4 separate regions of the Homo sapiens genome follow, and regions 1, 2 and 4 are each linked to region 3. The links are contacts of gene promoters, found by promoter capture Hi-C in human tissues and cell types (Jung and others, 2019). All regions are on one chromosome and are shown on one strand. The core of a region is centred on a gene start or on the middle of the fragment in contact, and the rest is flanking DNA. Distances in the headings are between cores, read along the strand shown. Region 1 holds the start of PDCD1 (programmed cell death 1). Region 2 overlaps HDLBP (high density lipoprotein binding protein). Region 3 holds the start of BOK (BCL2 family apoptosis regulator BOK). Region 4 overlaps ANO7 (anoctamin 7).

What was found. The method cuts DNA at HindIII sites, captures the fragments that hold promoters and counts their contacts. A contact is called where the count stands out against the background at its distance.
Region 1: the fragment with the promoter of PDCD1 here is called in contact with the fragment with the promoter of BOK in region 3 in 1 of the 25 tissues and cell types used here (heart left ventricle).
Region 2: a contact is called between a fragment that was not itself captured here and the fragment with the promoter of BOK in region 3, in 3 of the 25 tissues and cell types used here (dorsolateral prefrontal cortex, hippocampus and mesenchymal stem cells).
Region 4: a contact is called between a fragment that was not itself captured here and the fragment with the promoter of BOK in region 3, in 1 of the 25 tissues and cell types used here (lymphoblastoid cells).

Annotation. Positions count from the first base shown.
Region 1 is chr2:241,857,576-241,861,899 of GRCh38, forward strand. It overlaps PDCD1 (programmed cell death 1), which reads right to left and starts at 1,319. Exons shown (of 5, transcript NM_005018.3): 1 at 1,188-1,319. The coding sequence starts at 1,263. LOC124908032 (a long non-coding RNA gene) reads left to right here and starts at 1,497. Exons shown (of 2, transcript XR_007088436.1): 1 at 1,497-2,502. RefSeq lists an enhancer at 525-1,487. The HindIII fragment of the contact is 28,999 bases long and covers 1-4,324 here.
Region 2 is chr2:241,279,086-241,283,369 of GRCh38, forward strand. The region is part of intron 1 of HDLBP (high density lipoprotein binding protein); the gene reads right to left. Among named protein-coding and RNA genes, the nearest start is that of HDLBP-AS1, 9.1 kb to the left of the region's middle. RefSeq lists an enhancer at 2,149-2,649. The HindIII fragment of the contact is 3,126 bases long and covers 1-2,949 here.
Region 3 is chr2:241,557,034-241,561,383 of GRCh38, forward strand. It overlaps BOK (BCL2 family apoptosis regulator BOK), which reads left to right and starts at 1,712. Exons shown (of 5, transcript NM_032515.5): 1 at 1,712-1,960; 2 at 2,422-2,670. The coding sequence starts at 2,451. BOK-AS1 (BOK antisense RNA 1) reads right to left here and starts at 2,110. Exons shown (of 2, transcript NR_033346.1): 1 at 1,744-2,110. RefSeq lists silencers at 2,375-2,454, 2,485-2,554, 2,605-2,734. The HindIII fragment of the contact is 1,356 bases long and covers 741-2,096 here.
Region 4 is chr2:241,202,699-241,206,748 of GRCh38, forward strand. ANO7 (anoctamin 7) reads left to right here. Exons shown (of 25, transcript NM_001370694.2): 9 at 635-800; 10 at 2,167-2,257. Among named protein-coding and RNA genes, the nearest start is that of ANO7, 16 kb to the left of the region's middle. The HindIII fragment of the contact is 6,060 bases long and covers 1-4,050 here.

The DNA.
Region 1 (4,324 bases), core at 69-2,568, 300 kb after region 3:
TTTGCCTTTTGCCCAGAATCTCCAGTTCTGAGTCCTGAGTGACCCACGGGCCAACCTTAAGAGGTGGCGCTGAGGCAGGAAGGCACGGCCCTGACAAGGATGCTGCCTCAGGTGCCGGGGAGCAGGCCCCGGGAGAGGGGCCGAGGTGGGGAACCCCCAGTCGCCTGCCACAGTGAAGGGGCACCAGGACCCCCGGGGCAGGAGCCTCGAGGGGGTGTCAGGGCGGCCCCAGGGGTGCCCCTCATCTTGTCCTCCCAGTGGTGTCACACCCCGGTACCCAGCAGGGCCCAGAGGGACTGTCTTAGGCTTGGCCTGGGTGAAACCACCCTCCCCAGGCCTTGGCATCCCCAGGTGCAGGCTGGCTGGGCACAGAGGGCCAGCCGGGCACAGAGGGTCCAGGAGCGGGCTGTGGTCACAGTGTACACAGAGGGCCCAGGGTCACGGGCAGCCCAGGAAGAGGCTCCCTCTCTCCTCGATCCGGGAGAGTGAGGCCAAGGCCTCCCCCACGGATGGTCTGAACAGGGCTCGGGGAGAGCCCTGGAATCTGGGCAGAGACCCAGGCGGGCACAATCCCCACCCAGGAGGGATCCTGGAGACAGAAGAACTGTCCTCACTCGAACAGGTACACTTTGGATATAATGAGAAAAATATCACCAGCTCATCTAAACTTTGACGTCGTAAAGCCAAGGTTAGTCCCACATGGGGCTCATCCCATCCTTAGGAAAACTCGAGTGAGGACCAAGGATGCCTGGGCAAGGCAGAGCCGCCACGCAGACTCCCCACGGCCAAGGTTTGGGGTTCTGGCCAGCCTGACCCGTCATTCTACAGAAACACGCAGCCCCAAGGACCGGCTGAGAGGGGACAGAGGTCCTGCCTGCCCAGGAGCAAAGAGGGGACTTGGGCCAGGGGAGGAGTTGGGGCCCAGAGAGGAACCCAGGAGTTCGAGCTGCCCAAAGCCACACAGCTCAGGGTAAGGGGCAGAGCTGGGGGCCAAGGCTGGGCCTGCCACAGCACCCCCCGACCTGCCAGGGACTGAGAGTGAAAGGTCCCTCCAGACCCCTCGCTCCGGGACCCCTGGGCTGCCAGGGCCAGGCCCGCCTCAGCACCCCCCGACCTGCCAGGGACTGAGGGTGGAAGGTCCCTCCAGACCCCTGGCTCTGGGACACCTGACCGCCGACCCCACCTACCTAAGAACCATCCTGGCCGCCAGCCCAGTTGTAGCACCGCCCAGACGACTGGCCAGGGCGCCTGTGGGATCTGCATGCCTGGAGCAGCCCCACCAGAGTGCCGCCTTCTCCACTGCTCAGGCGGAGGTGAGCGGAAGGGAAACTGTCCCAGGTCAGGTTGAAGGGAGGGTGCCCGCCCCTTGCTCCCGCCCCCTCTTCCTCCACATCCACGTGGGCGAGAGTGACAGAGGCAGTGCTGGGGGAGGAGGGGTGAGGAGGGGGTAGGACTGGGGAGAGGGTGGGGGAGGGAGAGAGAGACAGAGACAGGGAGACAGAGGAGATGGGGAGGAGGTGGGCCCGTGGCCCCCACGCCCTACCCCGTGGGGGTCTCCCCAGCTCAGGGCCCCTTCCTCCTCTGTGTCTCTGCTCACTGCTGTGGCCTCTTTCCATATCCCGCCCGAGCTGCCCCTCCTGAGGCTGCCGGGTGGGGGCAGGCCCTTCTCCTCCCCCATCCCCCCCATCTCCCTGGGGGCCGGGCCTCCCTGCCTGGGGAAGGTGGGTGGCCCCCTCTGGGCTCAGGTTCCTGGGCTGCAGTGAGGGGTGGGCTCAACCCCACTCCCATTCTGTCGGAGCCTCTGGGAGCCTCCCGGCTGCCCACAGCCTCTGCCCCTGCTGGGGGCAGGTGCCTGGCCTCTGCCTTCCCGGCCCATCCCCCTTCGCTGGGGCACAGGTGACCCTACTGAATGACAACTGTCCATGGCTAATCGGCTCCCCCTCAAAGCTTCCACCTTGTGGATGGCCTCACACCATGGCCACAGTTCCAGATCTTTCCACCGTGTGATGCCTGCAACAGCCTGACGGGGGGGCTGGGGCGGTGGCAGGGGCTGGCTGTGAGGCTGACCTCCCCTTCCAGCCTTGACCTTCTTCCCCGGGGCCCTGCCCTCCAGCCCACTCGTGCCAGGGTGGGGTGGTTCAGGGGGTCCAGTGCCTGGGCCTGGCTGGCGGCCCGGCGTTTGTGAAATGGCTTGCTTATCTCCTTGTATTCTGTGCTGAGCATTTTATTACAGCGAATGGAAAACAGGAGAAATGAAACTGCTGATATTAGTGATGAGATGCGTCAGGCTCATCAGCTTAAAATAACCGAAGCGAGGCTAGAAACCGCCTGACAGCTGGCGCGGCTGCCTGGCTCCGAGAGACACTCGGCCCGGCTCTGAAGGGAAAACATTAAAGCACCGAAACAGTGGAAAAAGAGCATCAAAGATGATGTCTGCGAGGCGCGGCCACGGCGAGGAAGCTCTCGTTTATGAACAAAGGGCCACTCCCGGGTCTCAGAGATGTGAGGCTGTGTGGGTGGCTTGGTGGGGAGGTGGGGGGGGCCCAGCTGGCCAGGTGGGCTTGGCGGGGGGCCCCCAGGGAGCCTGGCAGCACCCACTGTGCTGCCAGACAGCTAAGGTGGCCCGCAGCAACTGTCTCCTGGCACACCCACCCTTGTGCCTCAGGGGCTGGGGCTCTGGGGCTGGAGAACTGTTGGTTGGTAGGTGCCTCCATAGCCCTGTGCCTCGCCCAGGCAGTGGATAAGTGGCTAAGCTGCCCCTGCTGGCTGTACTTGTCCTGAAGGCAGATTCTGGACAGAACCTCCCTCTGCCCCCAGCCCTGTAGAGCCTTGTTCCAACCTCTGTTGAATGCTGTCTCTGTTCCAGGGCAGCAGTGGGCCTTCCTCAAGGCTCTGAGCTTTGTGGGACGAAGCTGTCCTCTGAGGACTGGGAATGCCACTGTGTGGGCTGGAGGGGAGGCTGGGCCCAGGAGGTGGGCTCTGAGATGGGAGATGCTATCAGACCCCTGGAAGGTCTCCTCACCACCAAGGCCCTGCCCCCAAAATTCCACCTGCCAGGGCTTGGACACATGTCCTGGAGTAGGGGGCGGGCACAGGGAGAAACCCAGCTTCCATCCTACCCCTTCCTTCCTTCTCCTTCTCCCACCCCTCTCCTCTCTCCCTGCAGTTCTTCCCTGTCACCCACTCTCCTTCCCTCCTCCTCTCAGTCCCACTGAAGGCCCCTGGGCCATGGGAGAGGAGACCTGGTGGGGTGGGCCCAGCGTGGAGCCAGGGGACTGCGGCCACTGAGGCCAGGGCTGCCTGATGGTCTCTCCACATTGCTACTCGCTGGAGCACCTGCAAAGAGACACATGGACCCAGGGAGGGTCTGCAGGGCTGCGAGGGGTCTGAGCCTGGAGAGCACAGGGCCTGCAGGGATGCAGGCATTGGGCATTGGGCCTGGACTAGTAGGCTGAACCTACAGGGTCCTGGGACCCCACCCCGAAGCAGATAGGCGGTCCCAGGGCTCAGGTGTGGGGTGGGGACTCATGGAGCCTGCACCCCAATATCACACTCCAGACCACTTATTGACACCCTCCCCCAAACACATACGGTGTCCCCAACACACGATTTCCAACACACCACACCCCAACACACACAGTCCCCAACACACACACAGTCCCCAACACACACACAATCTCCAACACACACAATCCCCCCACACACAATCCTCAACACACACACAAAATTCCCAACACACACAATCCCCAAAACATACACAGTCCCCAACACACACACAAAATTCCCAACACATACAATCTCCAACACACACAATCCCCCTGCACACAATCCTCAACACACACACACAATTCCCAACACACACAATCCACAACACACACACAATCCCAACACACACACAACTTTCAACATACGTAGAATCCCCAACACACACAATCCTCAACACACACACAAAATTCCCAACACATACAATCCTCAGAACACACACAATCCTCAACACACACACAATTCCCAATACACACACAATCTCAAACACACACAATTCCCTCACACACAATTCTCAACACACACACAAAATTCCCAACATGCACAATCCCCAACGTACACGCAATCCACAACACATACACAAAATTCCCAACGCACACACAAAATTTCCAACACACAATCCTCTGTACACATTGTCCCCAACTCACACACAACTCCCAACATGCACAGAATCCCCAACACACACACAAATCCCCAACACACACAATCCTCAACACACACACAATTCCCAATACACACACAATCCCCAACACACCCAATCCCCAGCACACACACAGAATCT
Region 2 (4,284 bases), core at 137-2,636, 280 kb before region 3:
AACTTATAAAAACCTTTGTCAAAATACAGAAATGACCTTAATAAATGGAGACAGGCCATGGTCATCTAAAGAAAGACTTAATCATGGATAGTAATTCTCCCCTAATTAGACTAGAAATTCAATGCAAATGTAACTTAAATCCCAAAAGGTATGTGTGTGTATGGAATTTTACAACCAGATTTTATACAATTTTTATTTATACAAGTTTTCTATATGTAATTTTTATAATGTTGCATTGCAAACACTGAATTGTAAAAAAAATTATTTATATACACCATTTTTAGAATAGTTACAAATACAATCATATTTACACAACAAAATTTATACAAAAGATCAAGGACCAAGAACAGCTAATATAACTCTGAAGAAAACAACGTGGAGGAGGGCTTGCTCTCTCCAGTGTCAGTAATTCAGGCTGTGGTGCTAGTGCCGGGGACAGACACAGAGAACAAGGGAGCAGCAGAGTGGGCCCAACGCAGACACCACAGACACTGACATTGCCTGCCTCAGATGTGGTCGTGTGGATCAGCAGGGAGATGGATGATGCAATCAATGGCTCTGGGAAAACTGGTTATCTACAGTAGGAGGGAAAAACTAGGTCCTTATTTGACACCATTTGCAAGGCCTATTAAGGCTTAAGAAGCAAATACTCCACGAGCGAACGATCCCACTTCTGGAGACGTACTTCAGGAAAAAGCTTTCCTGGGCAAAAGGAAATATGTACAAGAATGCTCATCTCACTGCACTGCTAGTAATAGTCAACAAATTTTTAAGAACCTAATTGTCAGTGGATAACATGGATAAACAGAGGTATACAATTTATGCAGCCTACTCCTCTCTTTGCTTTAACTTATCACCTGACAGGAACCCGCTGCAGTGGAGCCATGCTGAAGGGGTTAGGAGGAGCAGCGGACCAGGGGTCATCTCCAAGGCTGTGGGAGCAGAGATGTGGAGGACAGGCGCCCACCACTTCCTTGGCAGCAGTGCAGTCTTATAGGAAGTTATTGGCACCATGGGATGGGAGCTAAGTTTAGCACAATTTGCACTCCCATACTGAGTGTGGTGGTCAAAGTCAGGTCAAAGAAATGTTTCCATCCCATTTGAAAGCTGAAAATTTAAAATTATATGTGGCTCATATTACATTTTTATTAGCACAAACTAATTTTATAATTAAGCTTATTTATACTCAGTTTAATTTGACTTGTAGCATATTCTAATAAGGAACAACTTTTCTTTGGCTCACATGTATTTACTGCTAATATATATTACAGTATATATTATTACATTAAACTCCCAGCCCTAAAATAAAGTCTCACGAAAGTTCAGATGAGACAGAAACAAAGACCTTGCAGTCCAGGGTTTCCTGTAAATTTGCCTTGTTCTTTCTCCACTAACTAATTCTGTCAGTTTCACTACTTTTCAGGAAGTAACAGAAAAGGTAACTTAGTATATTCTCCAGTGACACTGTTCTCTGGCTTATTTCTTTGATTCACGTATTTCTAGGTAAGGTGAAAATACGTAACTTGTGTTTTATCCGAGTCATTATAGGCACCTATAATGAGAACAAATTGTATAAAGAACACCAAACTTGTTGCCAGGATACCTGCTTTCAGAATCTTGCTCAGATATAATTTGGGTCACCTTGGCTAGTTGTTTAAGCTCTCAACTTTAATAATTCACATTTCTAAGTTTTGGGGCCTTTTCTGCAAGTTGTTAAAAAGATCAAGGAAAATGGTATCTAAAAGAACCTGCCCTTTAATAGGTATCTCACTGTTTGGGAATGCTAACATTTAATTCCACTAAACCACTAAACTCACTACTTTCCACTAAATTAATACATTTAGTGGAGTATGCCACTACATTAATTTTACAAATACAGAAACAATCAGCACATATTTCTACAGCTGAGTAAAGAATAATATTTACTTAGAGCCTAATTAAAGAACATGTGTCAGATAAATACAATTTATTTTCTTAATAAGATGGGGGGCTGGGCGCGGTGGCTCACGCCTGTAATCCCAGCACTTTGGGAGGCCGAGGTGGGCGGATCACTTGAGGTCGAGAGATCGAGATCAGCCTGACCAACAGGGAGAAACCCCATCTCTACTAAAACACAAAATTACTCGGGCTTGGGGGTGCATGCCTGTAATCCCAGCTACTCGGGAGGCTGAGGTGGGAGAATCGCTTGAACCCGGGAGGCAGAGGTTGCAGTGAGCCGAGATCGCGCCATTGCACTCCAGCCTGTGCAACAGGAGTGAAACTCCGTCTTAAAAATAAATAAATAAATAAGCCAGGCATGGTGGCACGTGCCTGTAATCCCAGCTACTCGGGAGGCTGAGGTGGGAGAATTGCTTGGGCCTAGGAGGTGGGGGTTGCAATGAGTTGAGATCGTGACACTGCACTCCAGCCTGGCTGACCAAGTGAGACCCTGTCTCAAAAAAATAAAAAAGAGGATAGGACAAATGTTAGGTCCAAAAGAATAAATTGATGGATTTTCATAGAAATAGACTACTCTTTTGAGCTGTGCTGGCCAACATCTACTGGCCACATGTCACTACAGCCTTCACACGTGGCTAGTTTAAAATGATATGTGCTGTAAGTCTAAAATATACATCAGATTTTGAAGATTTAGTACAAGAAATACTATCTAAAACATTTTATTATTAGTTTTAGGATGGATTACATGTAAAATGGTAGTATCTTACATTGGGTGAAACAATATTATTAAAATTAACTTCACTTGTTTATTTTTATATTTTTAAGGCAGATGTTGGAAAATTTTAAATATATGTGGCTCATATTGGACAGCAGTGCTACAGTGTCTGTATTTTCAAACCAAAGCTAAACTATAAACTGACAAGGGAGTTTTTCTCATTAGTAAACTTTATATAACAATCTTAAGGAAAAAATATTTTATTACAAATCTTTTGTGTTTAATGAATAAATTTACATTAGGGGAAAAGAGTATAAAATGCGTCTTCTTCTCAATCATGAAAGCATCTCCTCTACCACAAACACAAACATGGCACACGTGGCAGGCTCAAACATTTCTGGGGAAAAGAGGAGCACGTTACGTTTACAGTATTTCCTAAAGGACTCTTTAATAACCCATTTTTAAAAAATGGGCAAAAGATACAAGCAGGCCTTTCATGGAAATGCAGGAAACATTTATTCAATTTGTATTTTAAAATGCAAGTGAAAAGTAGAATAAGATTCTACATTTCACCTCAGTTTGGCAAAAATAAAATCTGAAGACTCAAAAAAAAGTGTGGGAAAACAGGTGTGGCTGGAGGAATAATTGGTGTGGTCTCTTTGGAGAGCGTACATATTTGATTGTGGACTGAGATTTAAAACATCAATATTCTTTGATCTAACACTTCCTACTTCTAAGAATTTCTCACACATGTGCCCAAAGATAGAGGCACACTTCAGCTTACAGTGCTTCTCTTACTTGGGTTTTTTAGACATTGTGTTTATTATAGGCTGAAGGTTTTGGCAACTCTGCAGGTCTTTCCATGCCTCTTTTCCAACAGCACATTTTGGTAATTCTAGCAATATTTCAAACGTTTTCATTGTCATTGTATCTGTTATGGTGATCTGTAATCCTTGATGTTACTACTGTAATTGTTTTGGAGTGCCACAAACCACGCTCATACAAGGCAGAGAACTTAATCAATCAATGCTGTGTGTGTTCTGACTGCTCCAACTGGCCACTCCCATCTCTCTCCCTCTCCTCATGCCGCCCGATCCCTAGACACAATATTGAGGGGAAACCAATTAATAACCCAACAATTGCTTCTAAGTGTTCAAGTGAAAGGAAGAGCTGCACGTCTCTCATATTAAATCAAAAGCTAGAAATGATTAAGAAGGCACGTGAAGAAGAGTTGTTAAAAGCTAAGACACGCCAAAAGCTAGGCCTCTTGCACCAAATAGCCAAGCTGTGAATGCAAAGAAAAAAGGCTGAAGGAAAAGTGCTACTCCAGTGAACACATAAATGGTAAGAGAGCGAAACAGCCTTATCGCTGATAAGGAGAAAGTTTGAGTGGTCTGGCTAGAAGATTAAACCAGTCTCAAAATTCCCTTAAACCAAAGCCTAATCCAGAGCAAGGCCCTAACTCTCTTTAATTCCATGAAGGCTGAGAGAGGTGAGGAAGCTGCAGGAAAAAATGTCTCAAGCTAGCAGAGGTTGGTTCTTGAAGTTTAAGATCTCTCTAACATGAAAGTGCACGGTGAAGCAGCAAGTGCTGATGTAGAAGCTGCAGTGAGTTATGAAGATTTAGCTAA
Region 3 (4,350 bases), core at 462-2,961:
TTAATGCTTGTAGTATCTACAGTGATGTCCTCTTTTTCATTCTTGATAGTGAAATTTGTGTTATCTTTTTTCTTACTCAATCTTTCTGGGGATTTATCAGTTCTATTAATCTCTTCAAAGAACCAATTTTTGGCTTTGTTGATTTTCTCTATTTTTTGCTTTATTCCATTAATTTCTGCTCTTATTTTTATTATTTCCTTTCATCTTTAGTTTTATTGTTCTTTTCTAGCTTCTTGAGTGGAAGCTTAGAGCAGTAATTTTATTTTTCTTTTTCCTTTTTTTTTTTTTTTTTTGAGATGGAATCACACTCTGTTGTCCAGGCTGGAGTGCAGGTGGGATGATCTCTGCTCACTGCAACCTTCGCCTCCCAGGTTCAAGCAATTCTCCTGCCTCAGCCTCCTTAGTAGCTGGGATTACAGACACCTGCCACCACACCCAACTCATTTTTTGTATCTCTAGTAGAGACGGGGTTTTCACCATTTTGACCCGGCTGGTCTCAAACTCCTGAGCTCAGGTGATCTGCCCACCTAGGCCTCCCAAAATGCTGGGATTACAGGTCTGAGTCATTTCACCTGGCCTAATTTTCAATCCTTCTTCTAAAGCTATCAAATTTCCTCTAAGCAGTGTTTTAGTTGCACTGTACAGCATTTGATATGTCTTATTTTTCACTGTTCTTGTCAACATATTTTAATCTTCCACTGTGATTATTGACCCATTGATTATTTAGAAGTGTGACATGTAATTTCCAAGCATTTGCAGATTTTCCAGTAATTTTTCTGTTATTGACTTTTAATTCAGAGAGGACACACTGTAAGATTTCAATCCGTTGAGATTTGCTGAGACTTGTATAAGGTCCATGATATGGTCTATTTCGATAAACATCCTATGTGCACATGGGAAGAATAAGTATTTTATAGTGTTGTACACACGTGAATTAGGCCAAGTTGGTTAATCCTATTGTTCAAACTGTGTGAGGTTGATTCAAGGATAAAGAAATAAACCAGTGGGATAGAGTTCCGAGACACACACACACACACACACACACTCTTCAGCTGATTTATGTTGAGATGTTGGGGACTCCTCCAATTCGGTGGAAAAAAAATGATGCTTTTCAATAAATGATGCCAGGTCAATTGGATATCTACACGAAAAAAAATGAGCTCTAGCCCCGTACCACACCATTCACAATAATTAATATGTAATCAATCATAGATCTAAATATGAGCCCTAAAACAAGCTTCTAAAAGGAAATACAGGAGGATATCCCAATAAAAAGGTACTAACCATAAAGAAAATATTGATAAATTGGACATCACTAAGAGTAACTCCTGTTCATCCAAAGCAAAAGTAAACCACAAAATAGAGGAAGATATTTGCAATAACTTCAATAAATGCGAATCCAATAATCCATCTACAATACAAAGGGCATGCGTCCGGACCAAGAACACGTCTCCAGACTCTGGAAAGAACCTCTACGAACGAAGAAGACAACCCAATTTTCAAATGGACCCCGGGGAACACCCAGGCGGCTGGGGCTGGCTCTAGGTCCCCACTGCTCTGCCTTGCGGGGGCCGCTCCGGCCTGGTCGCCTTCTCCGGGCGCATCCAGGGAACTCGCTCGGTCCTCCTTAAGCGGGGAAGCTCGGAAAGCGTCTCCCCGACTCCGCCCCCAGGGTTGCCTTTCCCTTAGAAGGCCAAGCCCCAAGCCCAGCCTCTCGCCAGCTGGGAGTCGCGCGCTGCCCACCTCGCTGCCCAGGCCCCCGACGCCGCGGCAGGAGCCCCCCAAGAGCGCGGGAAGCCCCGTGGACCTGGCGCTCCCGGCTCGGGCGTGGACGGGGCGGGCGCCGGGGCGGGGCGCGCGTCCTCGCGGGTCTGAATGGAAGGGTCGAGGTCGTCGTCGGCGGCGAGCAGATCCTGAAGCCAGAACTCCACCCCGGCGCCCGCGCCATGCGGCGGGAGAGGTGAGCGCGGCGGGCGTGGCGTCCGTGCCGGGGTGCCCGGGGTGCCACGGGAACGGCGAGGCCGGGGACACGCGCGCAGGACGCCAGCGGCGGAGGTGGGCGGCCCCGGGCCGGGGCGGGGAGGGCCGGGTCCTGGCAGTCGCCGTGGGGGACGCGCTGGGCTGTGCCCTCCGCCCCCGCCGCCCACGCACTCGTCTTCGAGGGCGGGCCCGGCGGCCCCGGAGCAAACCGCCGTCTCCCCGCGGCCCCACCGGTCCCTGGCAGCCTCGGGGAATGTCTGTAGCTGAATTCGGGCTCTGAAAGAAGGTGGCGCTGGGTTTTTAAAGATTTGGGGCACAAAAAACGAGAGCGGACCCGGCGCCGGCTACGGCCCTTCCCGAGGGCCACGCCCAGCCCGGCGCCCCGCGCGCCCCGTTCCCCGCGCCGCCTCCCTCCACCCGGCTGAGCGCTTGTGCCCGCAGGTGCGGCGCCCCCCACCCGCGTCGCCGCCATGGAGGTGCTGCGGCGCTCCTCGGTCTTCGCCGCCGAGATCATGGACGCCTTTGACCGCTCGCCCACAGACAAGGAGCTGGTGGCCCAGGCCAAGGCGCTGGGCCGGGAGTACGTGCACGCGCGGCTGCTGCGCGCCGGCCTCTCCTGGAGCGCGCCCGAGCGTGCCGCGCCGGTCCCGGGACGCCTGGCTGAGGTGTGCGCGGTGCTGCTGCGCCTGGGTGAGTGCGCCCTGGTGGGATCCCCAGCTGCGCCTCCTCCCCTGCTGGGCCGCAGCCTCCCTCCGAGGCCGAGATGGGGGTCCGGCCCAGGGGCGCCCACCCCCTGCCTGGGACGGCCAGGCGCTCGGGACAGGGCCACCCAGGCGGGTGCTCCCGGATCTGCCCTCTCAGGCCTCCCACGCCACAGGCCCCCCCATCAGCTGCCTGCTCAGCCCAGATTTCAGTCATGCTGGCCATAAACAATAGAAAGCTCCAGAAAGAATAATCTATTAGTGGGTGGCTAAGCTTCCACAGTGACCCTTGTTCTCAGCTGGGCACAGAAACCCTTTGTAGGAGCACGTGTCCCGATGTTTATTTTGGAAAACAGATTCTTGCTGTTACTGGCCGAGATCCCGCCCGCTGCCCTCTGGATTCCGAGGCCTCCGAGGCCCCCCCATTGGAAACTGCGCCCACCGGGCTGGGTAGCCAAAACCTCAGTATTCGTTGGTGCTGTGAGGACATCTGGGGGTGCTCGGTTCTGGGGTCACACACGGTCCACTGGCTGCCCCCACCGTCTCCAAGGTCTGGACCCAAGAGGGAGGGACCAGCCCCACTGTGACTGTCCAGTCCCCTCACCACAGCTGGGCTGTGGCCGTCACCTGGGAATGTTTATGTGATGCCCGAAGAGGGCACATGGGGCGCCTGTGGCTGAGCCCGGGAAGGGGAGGTGACAGCATAGGTGAAACTGAATCGGTGGCTCTCCAGGCAGGGGGTTGGAGTCGGAGGGCACGACCCCGTGAGGGGACACGCTGCCTCCTCTCAGGCTGGCGCTGGCATGGGCTCTAGGTGGCCCCTGCCCTTACGTGGTGGGCTGGGCCCAGAGAGCAAAGCTGTGTAGACCTGGCCTGCCCAGGAGTGTGTGTGGGGTGCAGACAGAATCCATGGGGACCAGCACAGAGCCTCCAGGAGGAGGTGGAGTCCCATCTGAGAAGTTCAGAAGGAGGGAGAGGTCTCTGGGTGGGAGCTAGGGGGTTGGTGGGGCTCCATGAGATCCGCCGCCTGCTGCTGCCTCTAGTCGGGCTCTGAGAATGACCCTAGGGGATCCTTTTAGTGGCCTTCTGAAAAGATGATGCCAGACCCCTGGAATGGCTGGGAAGAAGTCCCAGATGTCTAGGGGGACCCCAGAGGGACACAGCTCAGACCTGCATCTGCCCTCACGGCTGCTCAGGGTCAGTCCCTTGAGGCCAGCGCTGTCTCCCTGCCCTTGGGCAGTGCAGACAGGAAGAAGCCCGGGTTGTGTCCCCACCTTCAGTCTGGGGCCAGCCTGCAGCAGCCCCGGAGATCTGTGTTTGGGAGCTGCCGGGTCAGTCCTGGGAATTTCCATGTCGTCCCCCGCCCCCAGCCAGCCTCTCATGGGCTCTGCTCTGCTTCCAGATCTTAATTAATGAGATACAGAGCAGCCTTTATCAGCTGGGATGGTCCGGTCAGCAGCATTACCCTGTTTGCTTTGGCTGGAGAACTGGCCGGGCTGCGGACTCCCAATCCCAGGGCCCTGTGGCATTCTCGGCACCATCTGCCCCGTGCCTGTGCGCTGCTGCTGCCAAGGGTGCCACAGGCAGCACTGGGGCGGTGGGCCTGTAGGGGCCATCCTCGGCTGCCAGGGGCAGGGCTGATGCAGTGCCACCTCCAAGCACATCCCCT
Region 4 (4,050 bases), core at 819-3,318, 350 kb before region 3:
TGTTCCTATCAGCGTTACCATCATCCCTGAGAAAACAGCCACTGTGGGGAGCAGAAGGCCATTTATTCCCCCACCCGCCCAAGCCTTCCCCCTTGGCCGAGCAGGGGAGGGGCCTTGCAGGCAGCCAGGGCATCTGGGGCCTGGTCAGGCCTGAGCCCACTGCTGCATGGCCAGGGGTCCAGTCCTGCCCCAACGCCGTCATGAGGGTTAAATGAAAAAGTGGGTGTGGAAATGCCAGGTGTCCCACCTTGCTGGGGTGGCTCCTCCCGCCAGCCAGGGCCCAGAATGCACAGCACAGGACACGAGCCTGGGGACTCTCCAACCCAGAGAAGGTGCTGGACCCTGGACCACCGCCACTGGCTTCTCTCAGGGTGGCCTCTCCAGGCCCTTCCCCGCCCTGAACCCTCGAAGTCCAGGAGTCAGAGGGGCCTCACCACATATGTCCCCTCCTCAGAGAGGTCCTCCCGGACCACCCTGTACCCACCCCTCCACATTACTCTATTTTTTCTTCATGGAGCAATCCCAGACTCCCAGGCCTGTCTGCCCATGTCCCACACTGAAGCCCCTGCACCTACAACAGTGCCCAGTGGGGTCAGCTGGGGGAGCCTCCCACCCACAGGCCGCTCGCCCCCAGGGCCCCTTCAAGACGCCCCCAGAGGGCCCGCAGGCTCCACGCCTCAACCAGCGCCAAGTCCTTTTCCAGCACTGGGCGCGCTGGGGCAAGTGGAACAAGTACCAGCCCCTGGACCACGTGCGCAGGTACTTCGGGGAGAAGGTGGCCCTCTACTTCGCCTGGCTCGGTGAGTCCCCCCCGCTGCCCCCCAGACCACCTGGGCCCCCCCAGCTTGGTGTCAGGTTGTAACAATTTGCCAGTCCGTACCCCTGGAGGGCAGCGTGCGTGGGGGCCTGGACGGTGGGCGCAGCTCTTGGCTCGACCGGGCTGCCCTCCTGGCTCCCCTCAAGCCCACTCACTCTAACTGGGCGCCATGACGATGCCGGGCCCTGGCCTCCTAATGCTCCAGTAACAGTGCTGAGAGCCGCTTCTGCTGGTGGGGGTCTCTCCTGACTCCCTCCCCGAATGTCACTGGCCCATGAGGCCCTGGGGCAACCCCAGGAACTTCCATCCTAGGGAGGTCGCCCCTGCCTGGGTCCAGGCCAAGCCTCTCATCTCCTCCAAGCAGGCCATCTGCCCCAGGCAACCCCAGAGCTGTTCCTCCTGGGTCCTGGCTGCCCTCACCCCACTCAGCTCTTGGCACCCTCCCTTCCCCATCCTGGGTCAGACCCAACCCCTTCATTCTGTGCCCCAGAACTTCCAAAGCCCTTTCTCATCCGCACACACAGCCCCACCGTGGACCCAGACAATAGAGCCAGCCAGGGCAGCGGGCGGGGCCGGCAGGCATGGAAGGGCAGCCGGGGCACAGCATCGGGGCAGAGGGACAGCTCCTGTGTGCCAGGACTCACCCGGCCATCTCAGGACCTGGAGCAGCAACCCTGGGACAGCACGGCCAGGCTGGGGGCTTCTGGGGGCAAGCAGGGCCAGGGCTGGATCTGGGCTCCAGGCAGACTTGCGTTTCACAGCAGTCACTTTGGCCAGCAGAGAGTCAGGCAGGAGACAGGACACCAGGCCTGGGACTGGACTAGCCCTATGGGAGGCAGTGGGGGTACATGCTGAGGGCCTGGGGTAACTGAGGGATTGCGGCTGTGGTCAGATGAGGCAGGGGCCAGGGTGGGGGTTGGGTGGTGGGGAGGGAGGTACCCGGAATGACTCGTGGTTTCCCTGGGGCTGGAACACGGGTGGGCCCACAGCTCTGTGGTGGGCAGGATGTAGAGGGACTTCTCTGTCCGTCCCGGGCAGGTTGGTTGGAGTGAGCTGGCTGAGGAGAAGGCATCCAGAGGTGGAGAGCCTGGTGGGCTGGAGCCCCAGCAGCACTGGTGTTGGGGTCAATGTGGTAGGGGTGTCCAGAGTCTAGGGCAGAGGCCCAGGAGGGTGGGCCGTGCCAGAGCTGCCAGGGAGAGCTGTGTACCTCTTGGCCTCCTCACATAGGGCCCCAGCCCCCAAGCTGGGCTGAGGGTGGTCCCTAGGGGACAAGCATGGCTGTGCAGACCCCTACCTGGGGCCCCCAAGCCTGGGTTCCTGATGGTGGACCCCTGCCATCCTCTCTACAGGGTTTTACACAGGCTGGCTCCTGCCAGCGGCAGTGGTGGGCACACTGGTGTTCCTGGTGGGCTGCTTCCTGGTGTTCTCAGACATACCCACGTGAGTGTTCCCTCTCCGCAGCTCTGGGGCCTGGTGCTGGGCCTCCAGATGGGTGTGGGGCGGGGGGACCCCTAGGTGCTAGGTCCTGTGCAGACAGCTGGTGCTTGAGGTGATTGAGGTGTGAGGTGAGCACATGCCTGTCTTCAGGAGTGTCACAGAGGGCCTTGTGGACATGGCTGAAAGGCTGGCAGGTGGACAGGAGTGCTCCCAGGCTGACAGGTGGACAGGAGTGCTCCCAGGCTGACAGGTGGACAGGAGTGCTCCCAAACTGACAGGTGGTCAGGAGCACTCCCAGACTGACAGGCAGACGGGGCGCTCCCAGGCTGACAGGTAGTCAGGAGTGCTCCCAGGCTGGCACCGGTGGATAGGAGTGCTCCCAGGCTGACAGGTGGTCAGGAGTGCTCCCAGGCTGATAGGTGGACAGGAGTGCTCCCAGGCTGACAGGTAGCTAGGACTGCTCTCAGGCTGAAACAGGTAGACAGGTGTGCTCTCAGGCTGACACAGGTGGATAAGAGTGCTCCAAGGCTGACACAGGTGGACAGGAGTGCTCCCAGTCTGACAGGTGGACAGGAGTGCTCCAAGGCTGACACAGGTGGACAGGAGTGCTCCCAGTCTGACAGGTGGACAGGAGTGCTCCCAGGCTGACACAGGTGGACAGGAGTGCTCCCAGCCTGACACAGGTGGGCAGGAGTGCTCCCAGCCTGACACAGGTGGACAGGAGTGCTCCAAGGCTGACACAGGTGGACAGGAGTGTTCCCAGTCTGACAAGTGGACAGGAGTGCTCCCAGGCTGACAGGTGGACAGGAGTGCTCCCAGTCTGACAGGTGGACAGGAGTGCTCCCAGTCTGACAGGTGGACAGGAGTGCTCCCAGGCTGACAGGTGGGCAGGAGTGCTCCCAGCCTGACACAGGTGGGCAGGAGTGCTACCAGGCTGACACAGGTGGACAGGAGTGCTCCCAGGCTGACATAGGTGGACAGGAGTGCTCCCAGCCTGACAGGTGGACAGGAGTGCTCCCAGGCTGACACAGGTGGACAGGAGTGCTCCCAGCCTGACACAGGTGGGCAGGAGTGCTCCCAGCCTGACACAGGTGGACAGGAGTGCTCCAAGGCTGACAGGTGGACAGGAGTGCTCCCAGGTTGACACAAGTGGACAGGAGTGCTCCCAGTCTGACAGGTGGACAGGAGTGCTCCCAGGCTGACAGCTGGGCAGGAATGCTCCCAGCCTGACACAGGTGGGCAGGAGTGCTCCCAGGCTGACACAGGTGGACAGGAGTGCTCCCAGGCTGACAGGTGGACAGGAGTGCTCCCAGGCTGACACAGGTAGACAGGAGTGCTCCCAGTCTGACAGGTGGACAGGAGTGCTCCCAGGCTGACAGGTGGACAGGAGTGCTCCCAGGCTGACACAGGTGGTCAGGAGTGCTCCCAGTCTGACAGGTGGACAGGAGTGCTCCCAGGCTGACACAGGTGGACAGGAGTGCTCCCAGCCTGACACAGGTGGGCAGGAGTGCTCCCAGCCTGACACAGGTGGACAGGAGTGCTCCAAGGCTGACACAGGTGGACAGGAGTGTTCCCAGTCTGACAAGTGGACAGGAGTGCTCCCAGGCTGACAGGTGGACAGGAGTGCTCCCAGTCTGACAGGTGGACAGGAGTGCTCCCAGGCTGACAGGTGGACAGGAGTGCTCCCAGGCTGACAGGTGGGCAGGAGTGCTCCCAGCCAGACACAGGTGGGCAGGAGTGCTACCAGGCTGACACAGGTGGACAGGAGTGCTCCCAGGCTGACATAGGTGGACAGG